2 separate regions of the Homo sapiens genome follow, and region 1 is linked to region 2. The links are contacts of gene promoters, found by promoter capture Hi-C in human tissues and cell types (Jung and others, 2019). All regions are on one chromosome and are shown on one strand. Each heading gives the region's core, a stretch centred on a gene start or on the middle of the fragment in contact. The rest is flanking DNA. Distances are from core to core; before and after follow the strand shown.

Evidence for each region. The method cuts DNA at HindIII sites, captures the fragments that hold promoters and counts their contacts. A contact is called where the count stands out against the background at its distance.
Region 1: a contact is called between a fragment that was not itself captured here and the fragment with the promoter of SALL4 in region 2, in 4 of the 25 tissues and cell types used here (bladder, liver, mesendoderm cells and 1 more).

Annotation. Positions count from the first base shown.
Region 1 is chr20:51,846,130-51,850,152 of GRCh38, forward strand. The region is part of intron 1 of LINC01429 (long intergenic non-protein coding RNA 1429); the gene reads right to left. Among named protein-coding and RNA genes, the nearest start is that of LINC01429, 15 kb to the right of the region's middle. RefSeq lists an enhancer at 350-850. The HindIII fragment of the contact is 4,103 bases long and covers 166-4,023 here.
Region 2 is chr20:51,800,678-51,804,130 of GRCh38, forward strand. It overlaps SALL4 (spalt like transcription factor 4), which reads right to left and starts at 1,844. Exons shown (of 4, transcript NM_020436.5): 1 at 1,602-1,844. The coding sequence starts at 1,731. RefSeq lists enhancers at 263-905, 1,549-2,190. The HindIII fragment of the contact is 8,319 bases long and covers 1-3,453 here.

The DNA.
Region 1 (4,023 bases), core at 967-3,466, 46 kb after region 2:
GTTAATTTTGAGAAGTTTGGATTTCAAGGTGAATGTGGTGGTGAATAGTAAGTGGGAAATTCAAAGGGGGCTTTCACATTTTACCAGATATACCAGATAACCTAGATTTACTGATCTAGGCGCCCGCCACCACGCCTGGCTAATTTTTTTTGTATTTTTCAGTAGAGACGGGGTTTCACCGTGTTTGCCAGGATGGTCTCCATCTCCTAACCTCATGATCTGCCCGCGTCTGCCTCCCAAAGTGCTGGGATTACAGGTGTGAGCCACCGCGCCCGGCCAGACAGAACTGCTTAATGCATTACTTGGGTAATTTAAATTTAAATATTAAGATAGTATAAAGCTGAGGACCTAAAAAACTAATCTTACAAATAACACGGACATCTCAAGTCCCTCCTCTCTTTGACCTACCAATTCCTCCTGGGGGGAGGTGCCCTCAGAATTACTCACACATGTGAGAAATGATGTGCAACCGAGATAATTCACAGGAGCACTGTTTGTAATAGCCCAATATTGAAGACAACTTAAAGGCCCATCATAGCCCGGGCACGGTGGCTCACGCCTGTAATCCCAGCACTTTGGGAGGCCCAGGCAGGCGGATCACTTGAGGTCAGGAGTTTGATACCAGCCTGGCCAACATGGTGAAACCCCGTCTCTACTAAAGACACAAAAAGTAGCTGGGTGTGGTAGCGCGTGCCTGTAATCCCAGCTACTTGGGAGGCTGAGAGAGGAGAATCGCTTGAACCTGGGAGGTGGAGGTTGCAGTGATCCAAGATCGCATCACAGCACTCCAGCCTGGGTGACAGAGAAAGACTGTCTCAAAAACAATAAAGGCCCATCATTTGGGAATTGGTTAAATAGAATAAAGGACATTTACAGCGTAACACTATACAGTCATAGAAAAGAGAGATCAAAGGGCTGGGCGTGGTGGCTCGTGCCTGTAATCCCAGCACTTTGGGACGCTGAGGTGGGAGGATCACCTGAGGTCAGGAGTTTGAGACCAGCCTGGCCAACATGGTGAAACCCTGTCTCTACTAAAAACACAAAAATTAGCCGGGGGTGGTGGCACACATCTGTAATCCCAGCTACTCAGGAGGCTGACTCAGGAGAATCACTTAAACCTGGGAGATGGAGGTTGCAGTGAGCCGAGATCGCGCCACTGCACTCCAGCCTGGGTGACAGAGCGATACTCTTGTTTCAAAAAAAAAAAAAAAAAAAAAACAAGATCAAGCTCTATATGTGTTGAGATGGAACAATGGCCAAGAGCAATGGTTCATGCAAGGACAAAGGGGCTGAGCCATCTGGATGATATGTTGACAATTGTGTAGAAAGGGAGCGGGGAGTGGAATACATATTTATATTTGGTTGTATATGCACAATGTAGCTCTGAGTATCATATTATACAACATAAAGGAGTAGTGGTTGACTATGAGAAGGGGAACAAATGGGTGGCTGTGGGACAGTGGTTAAGAGACTTTTCACCATTTGTTAAACTTGGTGATTATTTGAAGCACTTGGATGCATTACCTATTCAAAATCTTACTAAAACAAGAACAAAACAAACAAACAGAAGCTTCTAGGATTCTTTTATTTCTCTGAGAATCCTTACTCCTGGGAACTACATCTGGAGAACTCATTGTGAGCCCAATAACACAGGGGCTTGGTTTCCCATGAAAAGAAGGCTGCCTTTCAAGGAAGGAGAGGGACATTCTCCATCCTGAGGGGACACCCCCCACACACCCCATGCTTCCTTTATTGCCATTTCGTCCTTTGCTGCTCTCATTTGATGTGGCTCGGCTTTTTTTTTTTTCTTAAAGTTCCCACCAGTTCTCTTTAAAGACAGCACCAAAACTAAAACTAAAAACCAATTTAATTTTACTTTTAAAGCACTCCCCCTTTTTTTTTAATTTTTACAATAATGAAGATCTTATTCTAGGATGAAAATAATGAATAGGAAAGAGCTGTTTATTCTTCCTTCTTCCCACCCCTGAATATTGAAGTAAAACTAAATAACAATGAAAGTGACTAGGAACAGCAGACAAGGGGAAATATGTCAGAATGAGAACATCTCATGTCATCTCCAGGGCTGGGGGAGAAACATCTTTCCTGGTACAAGGTCCCGGTACCGAAGAAATACAATTTTTCAAAAAGTTCTGTAAGTGATACATGCTTGTTACAAAAAATCTCTACCATTTTCAAAGCTTAGAAGGCAGAAACTCCTTGTTAGTTGGTAATTTCTTTATCTCTCTCATGCTTTCCTGATATCTGAATTACGCTTGAGAAAAAGAGGAAAATAAAACAAGACAGAAAATAATGCTTCCTTAGGTAAATACAATCGGCTAAGAAAGGCTTCCAAGAAGAAGCATAATTCACTGAGTCCCAGCTTATTGAGAGAATCCCCAAACAAAGGACTTTTGTGAAGGGATCAGTCTCAGCCACCATAACTTAGCATACAATAGGATGGCTTAATAAAAGAGGTTTCCAAAGGCCAAGATGGTTATCAAAGATCTCCCAAGGAGAGAGGGAGAAGAAGAGACAGAGAGAAAAAGAGAGAGAGAAAGAGGGAAGGAATAACCTTCTGGAATGTTCCCAACTATCTTTCCAGTTAGCATTCATGAATACGTGAAAGGTTTCATATCACTTGGAGTCCCACCCATTTTTCAAAATAGGAAGCTTCCGCTATTTTCTTCTGGATCCGTTATTGGGTCAAGAGAAGTCTCTGCCTCTTGTCCAGGACATTTGGATATTTCTTATTTGTTATTTATTTATGAGATAGGGTCTCACTGTGTCGCCCAGGCTGGAGTGTAGTGGCACAACCATGGCTCACTGCAGCCTCGACCTCCCAGGTTCAAGTGATTCTCCCGTCCCAGCCTCCTGAGTAGCTAGGACGACAGGCACCATTGCACTTGGCTAATTTTAAAATATTTTTTAGAGATAGGGTCTTGCTATGTTGCCCAGCCTGCTCTCAAACTCCTGGCCTCAAGTGATCCTCCCCCACCTTGGCTTCCCAAAGTGCTCGGATTGCAGGTGTAAGCCACCCACTGCACCTGGCCTAGATTTGGAAGTTTATATAATTACTTTTCAATGAATGTTTTAATGAATGTTGCAATGAATGTCTCCTTGTTTACCTTAGATGACTGGGTGAAATAAACAACTCCTCAAATTTTGTTATGTTACTCTGCCATATTATATCACGTATGACATATATTGTTATATTATATTACATATGTATGTCTATACATATGTTTCTGTGTATGTAGATGTTTATACATCCAGCATATTAAATCCATCAAGCTTTTCGACAAAGGTGAAAGGTTGTAGACTTCACAAACTTAAATAATGTAGGTTGTAGAGTCAGAGCAACTTCTGGTTGTCCCAGTGAACTTGGATAAGTGACTTAACCTGGCTGGGCCTCCATGTCCTCCTGGCAAGTAGGGGTGGTAACCGCCCATATGGAGGGGGTTCCACAAGATAAATTTGGAAAGACATAGGCAAGTGGCACAAAGCAACGGTAGCTGTGGTTGTCCCCTCCGGACAGTGGTTATTAAAAAGACTTATAGGTTGGGCGCGGTGGCTCCTGCCTATAATCCCAGCACTTTGGGAGGCCAAAGCAGGCAGATCACTTGAGGTCAGGAGATCCAGATCAGCCCAGCCAACATGGTGAAACCCCGTCTCTACTAGAAATACAAAAATTACTGAGTATGGTGGCGCAAGCCTGTAGTCCCAACCTACTCAGGAGGCTGAGGCATGAGAATCACTTGAACCTGGGAGGCAGAGGTTGCAGTGGGCCAAGATGGCGCCACTGTACTCCACCCTGGCAACAGAGTGAGACCTTGTTTCAAAAAAAAAAAAAAAAAAAAAAAAGAAGATGTATGTTCCCGGCTTTAGGAGACTACCTTGGGGGCTGTGCAAACACAGGCTACTCTATTCAAATTCTGGATTTCTTTAAAAAACAAAACCACAAACACCAAAATACTCTGATAGTGCTTCAAAACCTCAAACTGGCCAGTGTGTGGCTCATGCCTG
Region 2 (3,453 bases), core at 594-3,093:
TTTGTTCCAGGTGGGCCAGGCCACGAAGCCTTCACGCTCCCCTCAACCCCCACCCCACCCCGCCCCCAACCAAGGCACAAAGAGAGTCCCTCCAGGCGCCTGGGACCTCGGGTGCGCGCTGCGCTGACCACCCGGCGCCCCGAAAACGCCCAGCCATCCCCTCCGTCAAGCCGATCCTTTTAATTTGCCCTGGAAAAATGTTAAACGGGGAATTCTATTGACGTATTATAAACTTGGGAAATGTATTACATTCAGTCTCCGACAAAAAGGCGGGGATACGGAAGCCAAAAAGTGGCGACCGTCTTCTCGGGAAACCCCGGGTATCAGAGATGGTCTCTGAGAGTCCTCCGGGGTTGCCGCGCACACCCGTCTGCTGCAGGGAAATTAGAAAGCAGGCGGGGAGCGGAGCGACGAACAAGGCCGGAGAGGAGGCTACAAATCCCCCCTCCCCCCACGCGCACGCTAAAAACTTATCAGGCGACAATTTGGCGGGCCGGGATGGAGACGAGATAGTGGAAAACCGCCTCGCTCCTAAAACCTCCGCGGTGAAGTGATGAAGTGGGAACAGAGTTGGCCCCGCCGTTCCTGGCGCGGCTGGGGTCCCGAACTCCCCTCGATCTGGGAAACGCTGGCCGCGGAAGCGTGGGCCAGGTCAGCCGCGGGAGTTCGCTCTGGCCCCCCACCTCTCCCCTTTCACACCCAAGCGCAAATGTGGAAAGCCGAGCGCTCCAGAAAAGCCACGCAAAACGGGAGGCCGGTGCACCCCAGTGGGGCTGCCGCGCGCCCGCCACCCCGGCCACTGGGGGCTCGCACCCTCGGGCTTGCCGCGGTTATTTTTAGGAAGTCGGAAATCAAAGATGGCTGGAGGTCAGGCCCCGAAAGGTTAGGGCGAAGATCGGCAGGCGGCGCAGCCCGGGCAGAAAAGGCGAAATCCAGAAAAGAAAAAAATTTTAAAGGGAAACATTGAGCCCTCCTCCCCCACCTCTCTGGGCCCTCCAATCCCCTGCGCAGCGCGGGTGGCCCGCACCCCAGCTCCTGAGGGTGGGGAGAGGTCGCGCCCCCTCCCCCCACTTGGCCCGGGAGGGGCGCGTGCAACAGATCGTCCTCCTCCGGGGGGTCTTCCAGGGGTGCGCCCCTCCTCCAGCCTCCAAGAAAAGCCCCAAGGGGCTGGTGGAGAGGGTGGGGATCCCCCGGGGTTCTTTCTTTTGAGAGCGACGCGAGGGAGGGGGACCTAAGTTACAAGGGGGGGGGGTAACACCAGTGAGGGGAGTGGAACCAATTAAGTGAGGGGCAGAGGACAAGGAGAAGGGAACCTTTCGGGAGCGAGAACAGAGGAGCGAGTGGGGGTCAATTTTACAATTAGGGGAGAAAGCTGGGGGTGAAACTTACACAAGAGGGGAGAAGAGGAAAAAAGTGTGAAATGTGCAAAAGGCGGGGTGGTGGGGAGAGGAGGAGACCTCTCCTCCCGGGCACTGAGCCCCCAAATCTCGGCTCCTGAATTTGCGCTGGACGCCGCCCGCTCCCCGAAGCCTGCGCCCTCGAGGATCCCGCGTACGTCCGGGAAGCTCCCCTCCCCGGGCGGGCGCCCCAGCCCCACTCACCCAGCTCCCCCGCCGCGGGCGCCGCTGGGGCCGCATCTGCAAACTCCGGGGTCTGCTGCTGCGGCTGCTGCTCGCCCTGGTCCTCCTCCGAGTTGATGTGCTGGGGTTTCGCCTGCTTGCGCCTCGACATGGTGCGAGCATCGGGGCGCCGGGAGAGCCGCAGTTATTTGCCCTCTCCGCCACAAATTCCTGGAGTTGGGAAATTTACCCCCCTTCGGCCGGAACGCGCATGTCCCAGTAATTATTATTATCAATAATGCATTGCGATTTATCATGAGCCCTGACAGCTGATTGGCCTGGGTCCAAGACCTCAGAGATCATTTAAATAAGCCCTCATTGATCAGGGAGGGGTGAGGCATTCTGGGCTTTGTAGTCCGGGCCTACTTGTGACAAAGGCGTGTTCATCAGGGGAGCGCAGCTAATTAGCATCCGGGCTCAGATTGGCTGGGGCGGGGACGAAATCAGAGGGGGACCCATCCTTGCTCCAGCTATCTCAGTCCTTGGAGAGGAAAAGAAAATGGGGAGAAATGCGTACTCATTAAAAAGTAGGAGCTTACGTAGAAGTTTTGGAACGGCTTTATTTGGTAGTTACTTGCTCCAAAGATTACTTGGTAAGGTTGATGTCCACCAGCCGAGAAGGGAGATCTCTTCACAGTGGAATATTTTGGCTCAGTTTTCACATCTACACGCACACACATTCCCCCAAACCTGAGATGTGACCCGTGTCCCCTCCCATCTTTTTGATTAAAAATGTTTAAGTTGAGTCTCGAGATAACTGAAGAATGATGAATGGTGGTGTTTTCAGCCCTCCCACCCATCTCAACTCTTAAAGTGAGCTCGGAACTTCCAAAATTTCAGATACCCCACCACCACCATGACTTACCTCCTTTAAAAGCTGATTAATAGCCTCCAGGATTCCTGTTCACAAAGACTGGTTTGTGGTTACAATGCAAACCTTGATTTTTTTTTAACTTCAAAATGACTGGCTACTAAATATAGAAATGGCAAATGATAAGCAAGCATAGTCAGAGATAATATCAAAACAGCAAGCAATTGCATTTTTTTCCCCAGGAGCCATAAATGCCTGATAACATCATATTTTATTACTGAGACAATGCTCTTGCATCTCCCATGGAATGGCAATGGGGCACTGTCACAGTATCTGGTTGTTACTAATCACTATTGGAATTTTTTTGTGCAATACACACATTATTACAGAAAAGGTGTATCGTTCAAAGTGATTGTATCATTGACACATGATGCCTGGAATTTTTTAAAGTGGGGCTTGTGTGTGTGTATATGATATATTACATGTATACACATTTATACCGTAAATTCATGTATACTTAATTTGGCTAACTGCTTTACACAATGTACATGCTCAATAAATGTTAAATGAATGATGAAATCATCAACCTGCTAAGTCTTTGATTGGTCTTTCCATAACTGCTCTGGGCATGCGTCTTTGTTTGGCATTTACTTCATTGTAAGGGACTGTGCAGATATAAACCCTCCCTCCACATTTGTGCATTGCATTCTCTTGATTAGTTATTCATCACGTTCCCAGCTTGTAAACTCATCAGGAATACAAGCAAAATGGAATGCTGGGCTCATCAATGTGTTCACCTGGGTATTTGGACAACCCAAGGCAGAAAATAAATCAGCTTGATCATCTTTTTTATATTCGTGGCCATCAGTAAAAACTTGTTGAAGGAAGATTAACCTTCAATTTTTGAGTCTCTGAAAAAGTCTTGCCTTATTTTATGTATAATATTTAAAGCAAGTAAGACAGAATTATAGCCAACAGCCAGATTGAAAAGGTAAGAATTTGGTTTAATAATACATAGAAGCA